3 separate regions of the Homo sapiens genome follow, and all the other regions are linked to region 2. Evidence: promoter capture Hi-C in human tissues and cell types (Jung and others, 2019). All regions are on one chromosome and are shown on one strand. Each heading gives the region's core, a stretch centred on a gene start or on the middle of the fragment in contact. The rest is flanking DNA. Distances are from core to core; before and after follow the strand shown. Region 1 has its middle 68 kb from the start of MEX3C. Region 2 holds the start of MRO (maestro). Region 3 has its middle 81 kb from the start of SMAD4.

Evidence for each region. Contacts are between HindIII fragments. The study calls those that stand out against the background at their distance.
Region 1: a contact is called between a fragment that was not itself captured here and the fragment with the promoter of MRO in region 2, in 2 of the 25 tissues and cell types used here (H1 embryonic stem cells and spleen).
Region 3: a contact is called between a fragment that was not itself captured here and the fragment with the promoter of MRO in region 2, in 3 of the 25 tissues and cell types used here (lymphoblastoid cells, mesendoderm cells and small bowel).

The regions. Positions count from the first base shown.
Region 1 is chr18:51,128,730-51,131,449 of GRCh38, reverse strand. No RefSeq gene overlaps it. Among named protein-coding and RNA genes, the nearest start is that of MEX3C, 68 kb to the left of the region's middle. The HindIII fragment of the contact is 5,752 bases long and covers 1-2,720 here.
Region 2 is chr18:50,818,388-50,821,398 of GRCh38, reverse strand. It overlaps MRO (maestro), which reads left to right and starts at 1,383. Exons shown (of 8, transcript NM_031939.6): 1 at 1,383-1,502; 2 at 1,697-1,818. RefSeq lists enhancers at 1,179-1,228, 1,065-1,698. The HindIII fragment of the contact is 21,582 bases long and covers 1-3,011 here.
Region 3 is chr18:51,109,945-51,112,705 of GRCh38, reverse strand. No RefSeq gene overlaps it. Among named protein-coding and RNA genes, the nearest start is that of SMAD4, 81 kb to the right of the region's middle. RefSeq lists a silencer at 2,180-2,289 and enhancers at 2,032-2,531, 2,532-2,761. The HindIII fragment of the contact is 7,166 bases long and covers 1-2,761 here.

The sequences.
Region 1 (2,720 bases), core at 177-2,676, 310 kb before region 2:
TAGCACCACTGTACTCCAGACTGGGTAACAAAGTGAGACCTTGTCTCAAAAAATATATATATATATACATATATACATGTATGTATATATGTATATATACACATGTATGTATATATGTATATATACACATGTATGTATGTATACACATGTATGTATGTATGTATACACATGTATGTATGTATACACATGTATGTATGTATATACACATGTATGTATATATACATGTATGTATATATATGTATGTATATACATGTATGTATGTATATATATGTATGTATATACATGTATGTATATACATGTATGTATGTGTGTATATACATGTATGTATGTATGTGTGTATATACATGTATGTATGTGTGTATATACATGTATGTATGTATGTGTGTATATACATGTATGTATGTGTGTATATACATGTATGTATATGTGTGCGTATACATGTATGTATATGTGTGCGTATACATGTATGTATGTGTGTGCGTATACATGTATGTATGTGTGTGCGTATACATGTATGTATGTGTGTGCGTATACATGTATGTATGTGTGTGCGTATACATGTATGTATATGTGTGCGTATACATGTATGTATATATGTGTGCGTATACATGTATGTATATATGTGTGCGTATACATGTATGTGTATATGTGTGCGTATACATGTATGTGTATGTGTGTGCGTATACATGTATGTGTATGTGTGTGCGTATACATGTATGTATATGTGTGCGTATACATGTATGTATATGTGTGCGTATACATGTATGTATGTGTGTATACATGTATGTATGTGTGTATATACATGTATGTATGTATGTGTATATATGTATGTATATATGTGTATATATGTATGTATATATGTGTATATATGTATGTATATATGTATGTATATATGTGTGTATATATGTATGTGTATATATATGTATGTGTATGTGTGTGTGTATATATATATATAGTTCAGAGTTGCTTATATTTGCATCAAGAAAATGCGGAAGGATGGCCAGGCATGGTGGCTCATGCCTGTAATCCCAGCACTTTGGGAGGCTGAAGTGGGTGGATCGCCTGAAGTCAGGAGTTTGAGACCAGCCTGGCCAACAAGGTGAAACTCCGTCTCTACAAAAAATACAAAAATTAGCCACATGTGGTGGCAGGCGCCTGTAATCCCAGCTACTTGGGAGGCTGAGGCAGGAGAATTGCTTGAACCCAGGAGGCGGAGCTTGCAGTGAGCCGAGATCACGCCACTGCACTCCAGCCTGGGCGACAGAGCGAGACTCAGTATCAAAAAAAAAAGGAAAGAAAAGTGTGGTTGTTGGGAACCAGGAGATGGGGACAGTTTACAAAGAATGTCATCTCAAGTTATACATTTAAAAACTAAAAAAAAAGTACCACAAGCAACTTCATGAAGAGTTTGAAGAGCAAAAGACGAAAACTCACCCTTAATCCTACGGTCATAAAAGCATGATACGGTGTGTTCATTTTGACATATTCTGTTCCTGTTTTTATCCAGATATTCGTATTTTATATATAGGTACAGACATGGAGCACATAAAACTGTCTCCTAATTGTTTCACTGACCATCCGAAGTATTTCCTATGTTGTTATGTTGGATTCATTTTGGCTGGCTGAATAAAATTCCACCAACTTTTTTTTTTTTTTTTTTTCGAGTCAGGTCTCCCTCTGTTGCCTAGGCTGGAACGCAGTGGCACAATCATAGCTCACTGCAGCCTCGAACTCCTGGCCTCAAGCAATCCTTTGCCTCAGCCTCCTGAGTAGCTAGGACTATAGGCGTGAGCCACTTGCCGGGTGAACTTTCTCATTTCAAAAGGCCAATGGTGCCTTTAAGACTCCTCCCCTACGCAAGGGATTACGCATGCACCTGGAGGTGGGACTATGGGCCTCTCTTTCCACCCTGAGCTCAGAGTGAGGGGCGAGACCCAGATGGATGAGTCTGAAGCTTATCACTTAGCACAGTTATGGCTGCAACTGGGATTGATGGGAGAACAGAACAGACCCTCTTCTCTCAGTGCACAGGCAGAAATAGAGGCAGCTGTCCCACCCTTCCCCAAGGGCAACTGGGATTTGTTCATTCACCTAGCACTGCCTGAGTCCCCACAGAATGGTATAATTTCCCCCCACGGCTAAGTGTTCTCCAGTATTTGTTTACTTTTTAGTTTGAAATAAATATAGATTGCAAGTTACAAAAATAGTATAGCGAGGTTCCATGTAACCTTCACCCCCTCTATGCCCAGTGGTTACTTCTTACACAAGTACAGTACAACAGCATCCCAGGAAATTGACATTGATACAATGTGTGTATAGTGCTGTGCTATTTCTTCAGTGTGCAGCTTCCTGTACCCACCACCCATCAAGATAACTATTCCAGCCCACAAAGATCTCCCGCGTGCTACCCTACCCACCCCCACCATCCCTAACTAGCAATTCGTAATCTCTTCTCCCCCCTTTAATTTTCTCATTTCAAGAATGTTATATAAATGGAATCATACAATAGGTGACGTTTTGAGATTGGCTTTTTGGGGACTATTACAAATGAAACTATTATGAACATTTATGTATAGGTTTTTATGTGGATGTAAGCTTCCATTTCTCTGAGATAAATACCCAGGAATGGCATTGTTGAGTCATACGGGAAGTGTCTGCTTAATTTTTTAAGAAACTGCCAAACTGTTTTCCTGAGTGTCAGTACCATTTTATATTCCCAC
Region 2 (3,011 bases), core at 134-2,633:
TTTGGAAGAATTGAACTCGCCCATTCCTCTCAGTTTTGTGTTGATGTATCTTCATCTCTGTGGCTGCCTCCCAGTTGCAGGCAGAGGCAGCCATCTTTCTTCCTCCTCCAGAGCTAACCCTTTCCCTCGTGCCCTTGATGCCCCCTCCACCTCTTCCTATTACCACTACTTGGCACCAGCCACATATTAGGGCTCCCTTGCAACCACTTTCAAACAAGGCCAGGCTTTATTCCATTTCAAAAAGCACACAAGAAAACCAAAATGCTTTTGCCTGACCTTGCTGTCTCTTCTAGTCTATTTATTGCTTTCCTTTTGCAGCAAGACATCTCAATTTCCTCTTTCCTCATAGCCCCTTAGTTTTGCAGTCTAGCTTCCTTTCTCTGTCACTCTATTGAAATTGTGTCCTCAAATGTCACAGTGGTTCCCTTGTAACTTAATCTGAAGAGGGTGGTGTTTTAGCCTCATTCTTCTTATTTTCTCAGCAGCATCGATTTTCTTTCTGCCTTTTTCTTTCATCTTCCACTCTGACATAGTTCTCTGGTTTATATTTTTCTGTTTATCTCCTGGGTTTTCTAGACCAGTCCAGTGCATAGCATCATGGCTGAGTCCAAGCTCTTACATTAGCCTGCCTGTAGCTGAATTTTAACTGCCACAAATTAACTGCATGACCTTTGTCAAGGTAATCTCCCTGTGCCTCAGTTTCTCCAGCCTTAAAATGGAGACTATAGTAGGAGTATTAACCTTTGGTTTGATGTAACAATTGAATGAGATAGTCTATGTAATATTTATCACAACATTTGGCACACAGAAGTTTTAATTGAATGTTATCTATTAGCATAACAATAAGTGCCTCTGTCTTTGAAAATATAACTGTTCTTTTTTCCTTTCAGGACATATTTTCTCCCTTTATGACCCAATGCAGAGCGAGACGATAACTAATTATTGTTAAATAGATTTATGCACGTGTTTGGAGAGTCAGGGAAGGAGGGCTGATGAGAGAGAGAGGCTCCTAAATTCTGCAGGTGCTGTAATTCCCCGGTTTTAATTTTGCTTTGCTTTTTACCAATAAATCATTTTGAGAGCTTAAATCGCTCCTTTCGGGACATACGGTGTTTCTTGAGCAGGAAGGGACGTCAACGGTTAAAGCTCTTGTTGTTGGTGCAACAATCAGCCACGATGAGGCTGCTTGGCATGGAACACAGTGTCCCATCCTTAGATTAAATGCGCTCTAACAGGATTATGTAAGGAAGGAGGCAGCCACGGCGGCGGCTTTGTGCAGGGGTCGCCTGGAACCCGTCCATTGAGTCATGCCGCCATCTCGCGGCCGCATGGGGAACGGGCCTTGGCAGGGAGGTTTTGTTTGGTGCAGAGGAAAGGTCCCCAGAATTGCCATCTGCAGAATTTCTGCAGAAAGTGTCGACCAGGCTGGCATGAGGGAAGAAGGAGGGGAAATCACAGCAAGGAGAAGGAAAAACACCTCAGCATGGCGTGGGGAAGCAAAGGTAGCAAGTCATGCTTGTGCCACCCTACAATATTCTTGTCGGTTTCATTCCAGAACAATTCCCTCCCCTGCCCAAATACTCTATAAACTTTGACTTTCCCCTCTTATTTGATTCTCACTTTCCAACACTCTGTGCCGACCCGTTATCCTGGACAGACCCTGCGTCACCTCCTAATTTCCCTTCTTGTATGTTAGGAATTCAGGGCTGGGAAAATTTAGCCGAGTCATCACATTTGGCTACTACCCGGGAAAGCAGCCCTCCCGAGTCAGGAACGGGCTCCGGTTCATCACGTGGCAGCCGCCTGCAGGAGCCGCAGGTAAGGGACACTGTTGGCCGGGGCAGCCAGATGCAGCGGGAGGCGTCCTGGCTGCACTTGGGTTCCCAAAACCTTTCTGGAATGTCACTCTGGTCACCAGTATGGGAGCTCGACCTCTAGGGGGTAGGATTTGGTAATGTTCTCTTTGTAAAACTGAAGTGGGCAATGTTGACCAGGAAGCTGATTTTGTTTGCTTTTCACAAACTATGTTAATCGATCAATAGTTGGGTTATAGATCATTCTATTGTCAGCAATATAATAGAATGGCAGGGACTCAGGGAAGATATTGACACTTTAAACTGAAATGTCTATGCGGTCTGTCTTCCCTCGTTCAGCTCACAGGACATTGCCTGGGAGCTGAACCTAGGCTTATAGCACAGTGACTGAAAGGATATCTTTCAGAGTCCTAAAATCTGCTCTGCCAGTATTTGACTTTGAGTTAATTGTTCAACATTACTTTAAGCCCAGTTTCTTCTTTTCTAAAATGAAGACGATTTTTTTAATATTAATTTTTTTTTTCATTTTTTTGAGACAGGGTCTTGTTGTGTTGCCCAAGCTGGGGTGCGGTGGCCCGATCTCGGCTCACTGCAACCTCTGTCTCCTGGGTTCAAGTGATTCTTCTGCCTCAGCCTCCTGAGTAGCTGGGACTACAGGTGTGCACCACCATGTCTGGCTAATTTTTGTATTTTTAGTAGAGGCGGGGTTTCACCATGTTGCTCAGGCTGGTCTTGATCTCCTGACCTCAAGCAATCTGCCTGCCTCAGCCTCCCAAAATGCTGGGATTTATAGGCATGAGCCACCACACGCAGCCTACTATTGTCATTTATAAGTTCAGTGTTGGAAGGATTTTTAAGCAATCTAACAGTTTCTTCTGCTCATTTTACAGATGAGATAAAATCAAAGTGTTTTATAATTTTGGCCTTCATAATATACCTTTTGGCTTCAATAAATAAAAGGATTATTGACCAAAAATCTAATATTTTGAGTCAGAATCATTCAAGTTTGCAAAAGCAGATGGGAGTCAGTGTAAAGCATAAAACAGTCTTCTAAGTTACCCCAAATCCATGTATCTTCAGTAAGATCAGGTAGAGCACAACCTGGCAATGAACACAAGCCCCAGCCGGGGTCTTGGGGTTCGTGAAAACCAAGGGGTCTGCACATAGCTCACTCAGGGGTATGTTCCAGAGGAAGAA
Region 3 (2,761 bases), core at 179-2,678, 290 kb before region 2:
CTTCTCCCCTTTCTAGGTCCCGTGGCAGCCATCTTGCTGTTACTCGCCTTCAGGCCTTGTATTTTTAACCTTCTTGTCAAATTTGTTTCCTCTAGAATTGAGGCCATCAAGCTACAGATGGTCTTACAAATGGAACTCCAAATGAGTTCAACTAACAACTTCTACCAAGGACCCATGGACCAACCCACTGGCACTTCCACTGGCCTAGAGAGTTCCCCTCTGGAGGACACTACAACTGCAGGGCCCCTTCTTTGCCCCTATCCAGCAGGAAGTAGCTAGAGCGGTCATCGGCCAAATTCCCAACAGCAGTTGGGGTGTCCTGTTTAGAGGGGGGATTGAGAGGTGACAGCATGCTGGCAGCCCTCGCAGACCTCGCTCGCTCTCGGAGCCTCCTCTGCCTGGGCACCCACTCTGGTGGCACTTGAGGAGCCCTTCAACCCACTGCTGCACTGTGGGAGCCCCTTCCTGGGCTGGCCGAGGCCAGAGCCAGCTCCCTCAGCTTGCGGGGAGGTGTGGATGGAGAGGCACGGGTGGGAACCAGGGCTGTGCACAGTGCTTGCAGGCCAGCGCAAGTTCCGGGTGGGTGTGGGCTTGGGGGGCCCATGCTCGGAGCGGCCAGCCAGCCCTGCTGGCCCTGGGCAGTGAGGGGCTTAGCACCTGGGCCAGCAGCTGCTGTGCTCGATTTCTCACCAGGCCTTAGCTGCCTCCCTGCGGGGCAGGGTTCAGAACCTGCAGCCTGCCATACCTGAGCCTTCCCCCGCCCCGCCACCGTGGGCTCCTGCATGGCCCAAGCCTCCCAGACGAGTGCTGCCCCCTGCTCCACGGCCCCTGGTCCCATTGACCGCCCAAGGGCTGAGGAGTGCAGGCGCATGGCGCAGGACTGGCAGGCAGCTCCACCTGCGGCCCCGGTGCGGGATCCACTGGGTGAAGCCAGCTGGGCTCCTGAGTCTGGTAGGGACTTAGAGAACCTTTATGTCTAGCTAGGGGATTCTAAATACACCAATCAGCACTCTGTATCTAGCTCAAGGTTTGTAAACACACCAATCAGCACCCTGTGTCTAGCTCAGGGTTTGTGAAGGCACCAGTTGGCACTCTGTATCTAGTTAATCTGGTGGGGACTTGGAGAACCTTTATGTCTAGCTAAGGGATTGTGAATGCACCAATCGGCACTCTGTATCTAGCTCACAGTTTGTAAATGCACCAATCAGCACTCTGTGTCTAGCTCAGGGTTTGTAAACACACCAGTTGACACTCTGTATCTAGCTAATCTAGTGGAGACACCGAGAACTTTTGTGTCTAGCCCAGGGATTGTAAACGCGCCAATCAGCACCCTGTCAAAACGGACCAATCAGCTCTCTGTAAAACAAACCAATCAGCTCTCTGTAAAATGGACCAATCAGCAGGATGTGGGTAGGGCCAGATAAGAGAATAAAAGCAGGCTGCCTGAGCCAGCAGTGGCAACCCACTTGGGTCCCCTTCCACACTGTGGAAGCTTTGTTCTTTCGCTCTTTGCAATAAATATTGCTACTGCTCACTCTTTGGGTCCACACTGCCTTTAAGAGCTGTAACACTCACCACGAATGTCTGCAGCTTCACTCCTGAAGCCAGTGAGACCACGAACCCACTGGGAGGAACGAACAACTCCAGCGGGAGGAACGAACAACTCCAGATGCGCCATCTTAAGAGCTGTAACACCCACTGCGAAGGTCTGCACCTTCATTCCTGAGCCAGCGAGACCACGAACCCACCAGAAGGAAGAAACTCCGAACACATCCGAACATCAGAAGGAACAAACTCCGGACACACCGCCTTTAAGAACTGTAACACTCACCACGAGGGTCCGCGGCTTCATTCTTGAAGTCAGTGAGACCAAGAACCCACCAATTCTGGACACAACAGGATGTCTCCTGGAGGGCCCGGCAGCCTCACAGTGAAGATCCAGACTCCGCAGAATCCAGGTGCTGGGAGCGTCCGGGCAAGGCTGGGCCTGGCGGGCTCTCTGAAGGCAGCGGTCCAAGCCCACCCAGCCTCGGGCTCTGCACAGGGCCAGCCCCTCAGGGACTGCGGTTGACGACTCCGGGCTTGGTCCACTACGCCCACCTGGGTCCCGGGACATTGTCTATCTAGCCCGGAGGAGCTGGGAGGACAGAGGCGCCTCGGGAAACGCGCGCCTGCTCCCTTCGCGGGGCAAGGGCGACACCCAGTGGTGGCCGTGGGAACTCGGCTGCGTGGTATCCCCAGCCCGGGGCAGGCGCTGGGGCCCTCTGACCCCACTGCCCTCTTCCCTCTCCTCCCTCCTGCCCTGCTCCCAGCCCGCCCTGCAGACCCTGGCCCAGTTCCCAGGCTACCGTCAGCGCTGCTTGCCCCAGCTCCCTCCGCCCCACAAGGGGCAAACCCTGGCCAGGGCGGGGGCACCCCGGCTCTTTCCCAGGGTCCACCGTCCAGGGTGTCTTAGGTGGCCTTGAATACCAGGGACTGCCGCCCACCTTTAACTCCAGTCTCGCCCTGGGGTGCATGGCCCCGTTACCTGTGGGCCTTCACAATAAACGCAGCTCCTGCTAGCCCCTTCTCGCTGGGAAAATCCGCCTCCCCAGTGCATTGAGGGGACCTCGCGCTGTCACCTCGCAAAGGGCTCGCTCCACACCTAGAATCTGGAGCTCCCTTCACCTGCAGAGCCAGGACCACACCTGCCGCGGTGGTGAGCCTTGGAGGAGGCCACCATTCCCCAAACAGGACACTGAACAGTCCCTCTAGGCCAAGT